Linked DNA regions of Homo sapiens: regions 2 and 3 are each linked to region 1. Evidence: promoter capture Hi-C in human tissues and cell types (Jung and others, 2019). All regions are on one chromosome and are shown on one strand. Each heading gives the region's core, a stretch centred on a gene start or on the middle of the fragment in contact. The rest is flanking DNA. Distances are from core to core; before and after follow the strand shown. Region 1 holds the start of STMN1 (stathmin 1). Region 2 holds the start of CD52 (CD52 molecule). Region 3 has its middle 17 kb from the start of MAN1C1.

Evidence for each region. The method cuts DNA at HindIII sites, captures the fragments that hold promoters and counts their contacts. A contact is called where the count stands out against the background at its distance.
Region 2: the fragment with the promoter of CD52 here is called in contact with the fragment with the promoter of STMN1 in region 1 in 1 of the 25 tissues and cell types used here (IMR-90 fibroblasts).
Region 3: a fragment that was not itself captured here is called in contact with the fragment with the promoter of STMN1 in region 1 in 1 of the 25 tissues and cell types used here (adrenal gland).

Annotation. Positions count from the first base shown.
Region 1 is chr1:25,904,737-25,908,911 of GRCh38, forward strand. It overlaps STMN1 (stathmin 1), which reads right to left and starts at 1,683. Exons shown (of 5, transcript NM_005563.4): 1 at 1,653-1,683; 2 at 1-2. MIR3917 (microRNA 3917) reads right to left here and starts at 1,718; the gene lies at 1,626-1,718. LOC105376885 (a long non-coding RNA gene) reads left to right here and starts at 1,814. Exons shown (of 2, transcript XR_947102.1): 1 at 1,814-1,910; 2 at 2,300-3,507. RefSeq lists silencers at 622-916, 696-1,115, 1,506-1,595, 1,616-1,925. The HindIII fragment of the contact is 6,882 bases long and covers 1-4,175 here.
Region 2 is chr1:26,316,197-26,320,371 of GRCh38, forward strand. CD52 (CD52 molecule) reads left to right here and starts at 1,762. Exons shown (of 2, transcript NM_001803.3): 1 at 1,762-1,875; 2 at 3,975-4,175. The coding sequence starts at 1,822. The coding sequence ends at 4,106. It also overlaps a transcript of UBXN11 not described here. RefSeq lists a silencer at 1,552-1,744 and enhancers at 1,819-1,888, 2,019-2,168, 2,542-3,527, 2,669-2,768. The HindIII fragment of the contact is 5,127 bases long and covers 122-4,175 here.
Region 3 is chr1:25,597,775-25,601,949 of GRCh38, forward strand. No RefSeq gene overlaps it. Among named protein-coding and RNA genes, the nearest start is that of MAN1C1, 17 kb to the right of the region's middle. RefSeq lists a silencer at 3,344-3,638. The HindIII fragment of the contact is 8,864 bases long and covers 1-4,175 here.

The DNA.
Region 1 (4,175 bases), core at 433-2,932:
TCCTGAAAATGATTTTCAAAAACATGCAATCACTTTCTTTGCCTTTCTATATGTCATCAACCCAAAAAAATCTCACATCACATCTACATACATCGTCAGAAAAATACGTGGAATAAAGACGTCTAAATTAACCACGAAAAAAATTATCAAAATCTACTAAATAAACATTGGGAAATATGACCTGAATATGATATTGGTTCCAGAAAATCAAGTTAACTGAGCTTTCTCGGTCATAAAACTCTTGGATTTTTAAAATCAGACAAAGTCACAAGGGTGAAGAATTTTTCCCCCATAAACTCTTTAACATTTCACCGAAACTGTAAGAAGATATTCCAGATTCAACTCAACAGTGCCCCCGGAGCCATCTTAATACTGCCTACAACTCATTGTGCAAATGAAATACCCACCCCTGCTTTGTCTGTGTCTGACGTGGTGGATAAGAAAACGCCCAAGCTAATAGTAACCAATAATGTTGAACTCCTATTGTCCCTCAGGTTTAAGCTTCCTTGCCCAACAGCAAGCAAAATGTTTATGAACCTCTAGATTTTGACTTATATTTGCTGCCGTTATGTCATGAAAAATGCTGTATCTCTTGTTGATCTTTTTAACATTATGACTTTTGTAGACGCCAGCTAGTACCAAAAACGTAGGATGACAGGTTCCCAAAAGCTAGGAATTAAAATCAGAGGCAGCGACAAGATTTAAGAAAAGCAGAGAATTAGACGCAGCACCGGACCCAGGATGGGCGTGGCCCTGGTCCGGGCGAGGAAAAGAGGACCGGTCGCCCCCGGCCAATCAGAGCACGCCTTGCGCTCCGGCCCCTGGCCCCGCCCCCTTCCTCCCCGCGCCTTTTCGAATCTCCCCGAACTCAACACCCCGGAGCCCGCGCGCGTGGGAAGGGGAGGGGTGGGCGGGGCTAACGGTCCAATCCGGGTAACTCCGCCCCTGCCTGACTCCCCCTGCGCGGACGCCCCCCCCAACTCCCGCCAAAAACACCTCCAGGCCGCCGCCACCACCCCCTTCACAGTTCAGCGGGTGGGGCAGGCCCCGGGAACAGGCCCCCGGGTGGTCCCGCGGTGAGCTCGCCACCGCCTCCCGCCGTCCCCATGCCCAACCTGCCGCCACCCACGCTGTCCGCGCGTCCGGCCGCGAAGACAGAAGAACCCTCGTGGGGCCCGGGAGCGCCGCCCCTCAATCACCAGCTGCGGTCGCCAGGGGACGGTCGCAGGGAGGGTCGCGGCCCTGGCTGCCCGCAGTTTGGTCCTAAAGCCGCTGGTCCCTGGGGCACCGCCCCGTCCCTTCAGACAATGGGGAACCCGGCGGGGCCCGCAGGGAAGGGAGGGAGGGAGGGAGGTAAACGAGGGCCCACGCCCCCTATTGTCTCCTCGACGGCACCCCGGAGCGGACGCCCGGTGATCGCCCAGCCCCCTGCCCACGAACAGCCGCGCCCCCGGAGAGCGGGGACAAAGGCGAGGCTCCGCCCGAGCCACACACAAAGCGGAGCGACCCCCGCCCACCAACCCCTCCGAGGCCCGCAGCCCCGCCCGCCGCCCTGCAGCAGGGGGTCGCTGCCACGGCCCAGCCCCTCCCGCCGACCGCGTCCCTCTTGCTGGCCTCAGCCAGCCGCCGCCTCCTCCGAGCCCCGCACCCACCTGCTCAGTCCGAGCCGCCTGACCACACTCTGAGCACCAACAGACCCGGGCGCGCACAAAAGCGCCAAACAGAGGCACGTGACCTCCGCGCGGGGCTCCGCATTGGCCGAGAGCGGCGGCACGTGCCGCCCCCGCCCCCCACAACCCGCGTGGAGCGCCGCCCCCCGGGACCCCGAAGCACCTCGGGAAGTGTAGTCCTGTCCCGGAGGGCAGGAGGACAATGCCGGGGGTTGCAGGGCGCCTGGGGAGCATCCCCAGGTGTGGGCCTGGGACTAGGGGGGTGGTCTCGCCGTGGAAGAGGGCGTGGCAGTGGACCCCGGACTAGGTCCGAACCAGCTCCCCATTCTCGAGAACAAGGGCAGGGCGGAGCAGGCGGAGGGCGGGGGGGTCCTTCCCTACCTTTCCAAACTTTGGCCGCCTGGACTCCACCTTGTAGAGCCACATGCCCGCCTCGCCCCAAGGGCAGCACTCGGACAGAGCAGTGCCCCTTCTAGTGCGCCACCCACATGGGTGCCTAAGACGCCCGAGCCCCTGTGACAGCACAATGCCACTCCACGCCCCTGCAGGGCCCCCTGCCCCCGGCACCCTACACCGACACCGGCGTGTCACCCATATTGTGACATCATCGTAATTTCTAATCCACTCAGCCCACAGGTCGCGGGCGTGGCCCTTCCCTCACTGTGTGCGTTCTTGCCAGCATCCTCAGGTTCCCGAGCCGGTGACCAGGGACCTGTGCGGGAAAGCGTGGGGCTCTGGAATTTGATCGCCTTTGGTCTAACAAAGCCACTCAGCTTAAATGCAGACTCCATCTGTTCTTCCAAGCCTTCTGCGGATGATAGGGGAGGAAGAGCAATAGCCGTTCTAGACTACACAGATTGCAGTTAAGTGTTGCTTTTGTTCTCAGAGCACGTGCTCCCCAGAGCAGCACTGGGTTCTTTTTAAAAATCGAAAAAGGAGCCACAAGGTCACTGTTCTCCCTGACCTGGATAGCTCAGAACCTCAGCAAAGGCACAAAGGAAATTGGTCTGACCGTGCCTTAGAATAACTGGCCCTTTCTCTCACAAAAAGGGGAAAAAAATAAATGAAATGAACATGGTCCCCGCCTCCTCCCATTCTCTGACCAAGACCGTGTCCTCGGTTGGTGGTCAATACACCAAGACACCTGCTTTGAGATCTTGACTAAGCAGAAGAGATATCTTTATTTTATTAATGAGCTGCATCTCCCCAAATCAAGAAACAAATGTGACCAACCTTCCTGAAACAACAGTCCTAATTTAGAAAGACTCTCATGCCTAGTTAGTCACCAGGGATGTGCCAGAGATAAAATACAACTAAGGGGTGCCCAAGACAATAAAAACTGGATCATACAAGCAGCAGCACACTACACAAAGCAAACAATTAGCAATGCGCTGTTGCCTGAAATATGCTTGTTGCGGCATTTTTTCCAACAATCGCCCTTGTGTGGGGTCGGCCTCCCCCCCAAGCCAATCGAAGTGGTTTTCACTTAGCCTGTGAGCAGGACCAGGAATAATTCAGATACTGAGCCTTGAAAGGCTTCTTCTCAGACCAAACTTAGCTTCAAAATGGCTAGGTGCTTCCGTCTGTCATTTTTCTGAACAGAATCTCAGACATCATTAGAAAAGTTGGAGAAGGATGGGCATGAGACCCCTCAGGAAAGCGACAGATAGGCAGGCAACACAAATGAGCAAGGAACCCAAGCCCAAGAGGTCCTTACCCACTGAACAGGCTTTTTATCTTGAAGTCTTTGTATTTGATCTGGAGGTTCACAGAGGAAGGTCCCACTCATTTAATGCATTTTTTTAAGTACAATAAATTGCCACACAAAAGTCTCACATTCCTGACTATTAATGTTGTGACAGAAAAAAGAAATAAATCTTTCAAAACACTGATAATTTGAAAGCACTTACACTGCTTCCCCCCACATTTTCTTTCTCCCTAGAGCAGATGTCTATTTCCATGGAAACCATAGCAAGGAACGTAGATGTTAGAACTCATGTTCATTTTTAATCTTTTTTAGCAATGCCACTTGGCTTCTGGGTTTGTTGGGAGATGCCTGGTTCTGCCAGTCTGTGACAATGTTCCAAGCTCCTCACAGCTGCTTGAGGACTGAGAGGGCTGGGTTAAAGTTTCCCCTAGAATGAGCCTTTGAATAAAAAGGTGCTTTTGAGGTGGGATTCCTGTCCTTTTATTATTATTATTATTATTATTATTATTATTATTATTATTATTATTATTTGACTTAAAAAAAATTGAGACAGGGTCTCACTATGTTGCCCAGGTTGGCCTCGAACTCCTGGGTTCAAGCAATCCTCTTGTCTCAGCCTCCCAAAGTGCTGGGATTACAGGCATGAGCCACCACACCCAGTCTGATCCTTGTTCTTTAGGGTGGGGCTGCCTTCCCAAGAGCCAGATCACAGCTCATTATTGTCAGCTTTTGTGGGTGTCCTATATAAGCCTTGGAATAGGAAGGGCTTTCAACTGTAAGGAGAGACAACAGTTTTG
Region 2 (4,175 bases), core at 512-3,011, 410 kb after region 1:
GTGCTCAAGTTATCTGCCCGCCTCAGCCTCCCAAACTGCTAGGATTACAGGCGTAGCCCCTATGCCCAGCCTCTGTTTTTTTCTTTGGACTCAGCCTCAGCCAGATCTCCCCTGGGCTTGCAACACAAGGCCCAAAACAATAGAAGAGAAGTGAGGGGAGTTTTCCCTTTACTACCTAGCATGTAAATGAGGCCTAAAGTAGACTAAGGAAGGGAGAGTGTGAAGGGAGAGTGGGCCAGAGCTGGGGTTGTGGTGACCAACTCCTGGGGCCTGGGGGGAGTTTGTGTAGGGGAGGGGGAGGGAGTGGCAGGGAATCAAGACTTAATGGATGAATTCTAGGGCAGCCCCAGAGGTTACATACATGGCTGTGGCTTCAGACAGACCTGGATTCAAGGTCAAATGAGACTGGCTCCACCATTTACGACCTTAGCAAGTCACTTAACATCTAAGCCTCAGTTTTTTCACCAGTCAAATGGGGATAAACATAACACCTGCTGCAGGGCACCACAGAGGGTATCAAGTGAGGGAATGCATAAAGCATGGAGCACTATCCAGGCAGCTGTGGGATTCCTCTCATCCCCCCACCCCTCCCTGGGCCCTCACAGCCACTCTCTCACCCCAGTCCCCTTCCACTGTAGCTTAGTCACCCACTTGTCCCTTCCCTCGCTCCCCTCCCATTCATCCTCAGCTAATACAAACAACCCATCTGCTTGCTACTTTCTCTACCAAAATCACAAAATTCTAGGTCTTGGCTGGGCGCGGTGGCTCATGCCTGTAATCCCAGCACTTTGGGAGGCCGAGGCAGGCGGATCACTTGAGATCAGGCATTCGAGACTAGCCTAGCCAACATGGTGAAACCCAGTCTCCGCTAAAAAAAAAAAAAAAATACAAAAAATTAGCCAGGCATGGTGGCACACACCTGTAGTCCCAGCTATGCGGGAGGCCAAGGCAGGATAATTGCTTGAACCCAGGAGGTGGAGGTTGCAGTAAGCCGAGATCATGCCAGTGCACAGAGCAAAACTCTGTTTAAAAAAAAAAACAAAAAAACCAACAACAACAAAACAAAACACTAGGTTTTAACAAACTTCAGAAATAATCTATTTCAGTCTTCCCAGTTCCTTGAAATGAGGAACTGAGGCCTAGAGAGGGAAAGCCCAACTGAAACCAGGCTTCCCGATTCCTCACCTCCAGCACCTTCACAGAAATCCACCAACCCTTCCACAATCTAAACATTTCCCAAGCTTTCATTCAGAACCTGCAGCCCATCTACAACCTTCCCTTGAAACATAAATCTATCCCAGCCCTTCTCCTTCAGCTCCTATACCCTGCCCCAATCTTCTTTAAACAACAAACTCATTTACGGAATATCTGCTATGTTCTGGCTCTTTTTAAATTGGTTATTATTACATGTAATCCGGCAGTTCTTTTGTTAAAGGGTCAGAGAGGTAGAGTTTCTGGCCCAGGGTCTCAGAGCTGGTCAGTGATTAAACCAGGATTCAGCCTGCAGGATGCATGATTCCAGGCCTTGGGCCCTACTTACTCCCACCGTTGCCTCTGGATTGACCTCTCTCCTATCTTGTACGATCTAGCCTGCTCCCCCAGCCAGGGCCTTAGAACCTAGAGCCTGGTATTATCCACCCCCAGATCTGCAGAAAGGAAGCCACACCCCTCCTCCACCTTGTAAGCCCTCCTTCCTCTCCCTACCTCACCCCGCCTCCTCTGCCTCCTGGTTCAAAAGCAGCTAAACCAAAAGAAGCCTCCAGACAGCCCTGAGATCACCTAAAAAGCTGCTACCAAGACAGCCACGAAGATCCTACCAAAATGAAGCGCTTCCTCTTCCTCCTACTCACCATCAGCCTCCTGGTTATGGTACAGGTAAGAGCAACGCCTGGCACCACTGCCAGGACTCCCCAAAGTTGCTTGGCATGGAGGGAGGGCATACAGGATGTGAGCTCCCAGAGACCCAGCCTTCTCTCCTGAGAGCACAGCAGATGGACTCCAACAGGAAAACTGGGGACACAGCGGGCCTGGCCGCCCAGCCTTCCAGCTCTTCTGGCTGGGGCTGCACTGCTTGCGGGCTGCCCTGAGAGAAACCTGTATCCACAGCTGGGGAGCACTTACAGGGTGCTAGGCGCGTTGGGGCACCCAAGGGGTGTTGTGGAATAATAGAGAACTAAGAGACTTGGGAAGACAACCCTGAGTGAGGAAGGCATCGGCCCACAGGGAGTCTGGGGAGATGGTCCTTTGGGGAGAGGCCAGGAGATGTCCAAGTGGAGCCTGCTGTGGTTATGGAGGTGACAGGGGACACTCTAACCCCCACTCCCCTGCCAGAGAGAAGCCTGGATGTTCAGGAATGCAAAGAAGACAGGACTCTCCCATTTCAGAAACAACTGGAGTCTCAAAAGCGACTGCTATTCCAGGAGGCAGCTTTGGTAGCATCCCAGGTGCCCAGAGGGGAGTCAGTACAGCAGACCGGAGCCATCAAGTTCTTGATCAAGAACAGCTTGATCACCATCAAAACCAGCTTAATCTCCATCAAGAACAGTTCTAGTTGCAGCTCCATCAAGCATTAAGGACAGCTCGATCACCATCTGGCCACTTCCCCACCCCACATCCAGCCACCCACGCTTTGCCAAGTGCTTTCTCACTCAGCCCTGGCTCATGTGACCTTCACAACTGTGATGAACTTCTCCCCACTCAGAAGATGAAACTGAGGCTCAGGGAAGCTAAGCCCTTTGCCAGGCTAGGAAGGTCAAGGGCCAGGGCTCCCCTGTCTCCCTCTATGCCAGAAGGGCTGGTCGCTGGGGAAAGGTGAAAAGAAAGGTTCTGTGACCGGGCACGGTGGCTCACGCCTATAATCCCAGCACTTTGGGAGGCCGAGGCAGGCGGATCACCTGAGGTCAGGAGTTCAAGACCAGCCTGGCCAACATGACAAAATCCCGTCTCTACTAAAAATACAAAAATTAGCTGGGCGAGCCGGGCGCGCTGGCTCGCGTCTGTAATCCCAGCACTTTGGGAGGCTGAGGCGGGTGGATCATGAGGTCAGGAGATCGAGACCATCCTGGCTAACACATTGAAACCTCGTCTCTACCATAAATACAAAAAGAAATTAGCCGGGCGTGGCGTGGTGGCGGGCGCCTGTAGTCCCAGCTACTCGGGAGGCTGAGGCAGGAGAATGGCGTGAACCTGGGGGTGAAGCTTGCAGTGAGCCGAGATCACGCCACTGCACTCCAGCCTGGGCGGGCGACAGAGCAAGACTCTGTCTCGGAAAAAAAAAAAAAATTAGCTGGGCGTGATAGCGGCTGCCTATAATCCCAGCTACTCGGGAGGTTGAGGGGTGGAGGTTGCAGTGACCCGAGATCATGCCACTTCACTCCAGCCTGGGCAAAAGAGCGAAACTCTATCTCAAAAAAACAGAAAGTTTCTGTGAAAGGGGGTGGACAGGGGCAGTGATCACCTCTGTCCCTGCCTGTGTCAAAGCAGGAAGCAGTCAAACATCCTGACAGGACCTTGTGGAAGAAGTAGTGGTCACATGGGGCAGAACTGAGGACTGTTTTATGGAGGTGGGCGGATGGAGGGCGGGGAGGGTAGAAAGGGGACTGCATCTTTAAATAACAAACACGCTATTCAAAAGTCCCCTGAGGGCTGGGTACGATGGCTCACACCTGTAATCCCAGTACTTTGGGAGGCCGAGGCGGGTGGATCACCAGGTCAGGAGTTCGAGACCAGCCTGACCAACATGGTGAAACCCCGTCTCTACTAAAAATAGAAAAATTAGCCGGGCGTGGTGGCACGTGCCTATAGTCCCAGCTACTCAGGAGGCTGAGGCAGGAGAATCACTTGAACCCGGGAGGTGGAGGATGCAGTGAGCCGAGATCGCATCACTGCAGTCCAGCCTGGGTGACAGAGTGAGACTCCACCTCTAAAAAAAAAAAAAAAAGTCCCCTGATCTTATCCCACTTCTCCTCCTACAGATACAAACTGGACTCTCAGGACAAAACGACACCAGCCAAACCAGCAGCCCCTCAGCATCCAGCAACATAAGCGGAGGCATTTTCCTTTTCTTCGTGGCCAATGCCATAATCCACCTCTTCTGCTTCAGTTGAGGTGACACGTCTCAGCCTTAGCCCTGTGCCCCCTGAAACAGCTGCCACCATCACTCGCAAGAGAATCCC
Region 3 (4,175 bases), core at 597-3,096, 310 kb before region 1:
CCACCTGCACTTGCTGTCACTCTGAGTTTTTTGTTCTCACCAGCATTTGCTGAAGCATCATCCTTGTTTATCTGCCCTGCCTGGGCCTTTTAACACAGGTGAACTCACCTTTGTATAACATGCGATGGTTAAGAGCAGGCTCTGGAGTCAGGCTGTGTGGGTTCAAATCTCAGCTACACTGTTTACTGGTGTGCTCTTGGGCAAATTACTTAACCAGTTTTGGCCTGTTTCCTCGTCTGTAGAATGGATATATAAAATGATAGGAAGATCAGAGAAAATACTTGTGCTGGGATCCGAAGGAAGAGGGGAAGAAGAGAGAAGGAAGGGAATCACAGACAGAAGCAAATAGCGTGTGCAAAGCCCTGTAGCAGCAAGAAGAGGCAGGGAGACTTGAGAGAAGGCCCAGGACTGCAAAGAGGCGACAGCTTGGCTCGCTCAGCCTCTTTTGTTGTGTGTCTTCCTGTACTAGAGAGACTCAGAAGCTAGATGTCTCTGAAGCCAAGGGTGCAGGTCAGATGCGACTTAGGCTCTACCAATCAGATGTACCATGGATGTTAATGTTCTAAGTCAGGGGCCATGTTTCTCTGGTCTTTGGACAAGCAGAGTCAAGGAGGTATTTGTTTTTCCACAGCAGCTGTTGCAGAGGGCTCAGCGTCTAGATCCATGTGTTGTGATTGTAGGGGAAGAGCTTGGGTCACCCATTCTGCGGCATGGGTCAGGGTAGAGTACTGTCCTTCCTGGAGCCGGCAGGGGTGGTGGCCACCTGATTTCCCAGCTTCTTGATTATGGTGGTGGCTGCAGCTCCCCTGGCAGGCCAGTTCTGCAGTGTTCTTCTGGGGATCATTTCTGGAAGCTCAGCCTAGAGTCAGCCTCTCCAACCCTCCCAACACTGGTGTAAGTACCTTTCCCTTGTATTAAATTCCTTTCTTCCTAAACAAGCTGCTGCAGTTCCTGTGATCTGAAACGGAGACTGACTGTGGTGTATTAAAGCGAAACATAAAGTTTTCCCATTGAGAAATGAAGCTTATTTTGCCTCCCTTCAATTGGCACCAGCCCTGTGACTGCTTAACCAAAAAGAAAGTGGTGGAACTGATGCTCGTCAATTCTAGGCCTAGCCTGGAAATTAAGAGCTACTGGAATGCTCACTCTTGAGACACTCTGTCTCAGAACCCAGCTGGCATGCTGTGAGAAGCCCCAGCCACATGGAGGGCTGCATGTTGGCACTCCAGGCAACAGCCCCAGTTGAACTCCCAGGCAACAGCCATCATCAACCATCAGACATGTGAGTAAGCCACTTTGGAAAGCCAGCCGAGTCAAGCCTCCAGATGACTACAGCCCCAGAAGAACCATACAGCTGAGCCCAGTCAACCCAGAGAATCACAAGAGATATAAACAGTTGTTTTAGGGCACTAAATGTTGGGATGATATGCAGTAAAAGATAACAAAACACTGACTGCTACAGGCCAGGGAAGCAAGAGGCAGCTGGAGGAGTCAGCAAAGGTGGATTATTAGCCGGGCCATGGTTAGCAGCTTTATGGATATCCGAGGAGATAGAAAGGTAGAAAGGTGGAAAGGTGGCCAGGCATGGTGGCTCATGTCTGTAATCCCAGGGCTTTGGGAGGCTGAGGTGGGCAGATTACCTGAGGTCAGGAGTTCGAGACCAGCCTGACCAACATGGCAAAAACCTGTCTCTACTAAAAATATAAAATTAGCTGGATGTGGTGGTGAGCACCTGGAATCCCAGCTACTCGGGAGGCTGAGGCAGGAGAATTGCTTGAACTCAGAAGTTGGAGGTTGCAGTGAGCCGAGATTGTGCCACTGCACTCCAGCCTGGTCAACAGGAGCAAAACTCTGAAAAGAAAGGAAGAAATAAGAAAGAAAGAAAAGAAGAAGAAAAAGAAAGATAGAAAAAAAGAAAGATAGAAAAAGGAAGGAAGGAAGGGGAAAGAAAGAAAGAAAGAAAGGAAAAGAAAGAAAGGTGGGAAAATGACATAGTGGAAAGGTGACATGGTTGCATCTACCTTTCATATGGGCCATTCTGCCTGCTGTATGGAGAACAGATTGCAGGGAGCCAGAGAGGTGGACCAGCCTGGAAATTATTGCTGTTGTTGAGGCAAGAGCTGAGTGTGGCTTGGGACAGGGGGTAGTGGTTGAAGGGGAGCCAGGTAGATGCATCAGAGATAAAAGGATAATACTGGGTGTTGGCTGAGGGGCTGCAGGCTCTCTGTGTGAGTTCTACCTGCCTAGTTCCTTCTAAGGGCCTCGTACCTCTACAGAGTCACACAATGGAAAGAGCAAGGGCTCAGGTATCGGATATATTGGGTGTTAATCTTATATCCAACACCCACCTGCTGTGTTACCTCGGGCAAGTCACCTAACTTCTCTGGACTTCAGTTTTCCTCTTCAATCAAATGGGACCATAAGAAGGATGATAATAATAATTTCATTGATTTGTTGAGCAGTGCCTGGCACACGGTAGGCACTCAATAAATATTTGTTGAATAAATGAATTGAATAGGCTGGAATTGAGGGGGGACAAGGAGGAAATGGTCTCCTTTACCTGCAAACTTGCTCTATAAAGAACCGATTTCCCTTCTTGACTCCTGCTGATAATTCAGGCAGTTCTATGGCTTTCTGTTCCCTTTTGGTCAAAGTAAACAGTTTCATTTTGATAATTAAAACTCACGGCAGTAACTAGAAAGTCCACTCTGACCCAGTGAAATGTAAAATTTTGATTTCGCCTCCAGTTAGAAGGTGAAACAAATCCCTCCTTCAATCAGTACCTACTGTGTGCCAGCCCCTGTGTGTGGTATAGTCAGCTAAGGGCTTGAATCATCAGGAAAAATACAGGAAAGCCTGTTAAATTTGAATTTCAGATAAATAATCAGTGTCCTTTTGGTATATGTATGTCCCCAAATAATGCATGGAGCGTACTTAGTAAAAATTATTTGTAGCTTATCTGAAATTCAAATTTAACTGGATTTCCTGGCCAGTATTTTTTTTTTTTTTTTTTTGTGAGACAGAGTCTCACTCTGTCACCCAGGCTGGAGTACAGTGGCACAATCTCGGCTCACTACAACCTCTGCCTCCCAGGTTCAAGCACTTCTCCTGACTCAGCCTCCCAAGTAGTTGGGATTACAGGCGTATACCACCACGCTCGGCTAATTTTCATTTTTTTGTTCATTCGTTTGTTTGTTTTAAGTAGAGACAGGGTTTCCGCATGTTGGCAAGGCTGGTCTTGGACTTCTGACCTCAAGTGATCCACCTGCCTTGGCCTCCCAAAGTGCTGGGATTACAGGCGTGAACCACCACCCCAGCCCTGCCCAGTATTTTTATTTGCTAAATCTAGCAACCCCAGGGGCAGAGGACATGGCCCTGAAATGACTTGGCCCTTGTCCTGTGGGAGTGTTTGCCTTGGCTAAAGGCGCTTGACTCCATGTGGGTAAACAGGAGCTGGAATACCTTCCCCCTACTTTCCCTTAGTATAGTGGGCATTACCTCCATGGGAGAAGGCTGGCTGCCTGCCAGTGAGATTGGAGCAGCACTCCTTTGTCTAAATGACTGGTCCCATTGCCTAGGTATCCACCATTATAACTACAACCCTTTGACCTTTGGAGGCTTCCTTCCTTCCTTCCTTCCTTCCTTCCTTCCTTCCGTCCTTCCCTCCCTCCCTCCCTCTCTCTTTCTTTCTTTTTCTCTCTCTTTCTCTCTCTCTCTTTCTCTCTTTCTCTTTCTCTCTCTCTTTCCCTCCCTTCCTTCCTTCTTTCTTTCTTTTTCTTTCTTTTCTTTTCTTTCTTTCTTTCTCTCTCTCTTTCTTTCCTTCCTTCCTTCTTTCTTTCTTTCTTTCGTTTTCTTTCTCAGAGTCTTGCTCTGTCACCCAGGCTGGAGTGCAGTGGCACAATTTTGGCTCACTGCAACCTCCACCTCCCGGGTTCAAGCAATTCTCCCGCCTCAGCCTCCTGAGTAGCTGGGATTACAGGCACCTGCCACTATGCCCGGCTAATTTTTGTATTATTAGTAGAGATGGGGTTTCATGATATTGGCCAGGCTGGTCTCAAAGTCCTGAACTCAAGTGATTTGCCTGCCTCAGCCTCCCGAAGTTTTGGGATTACAGGCGTGACCCACTGTGTCCTGCTGGAGGCTTGTTTCTTTTCAGATGGTTAGGAGAGCACATG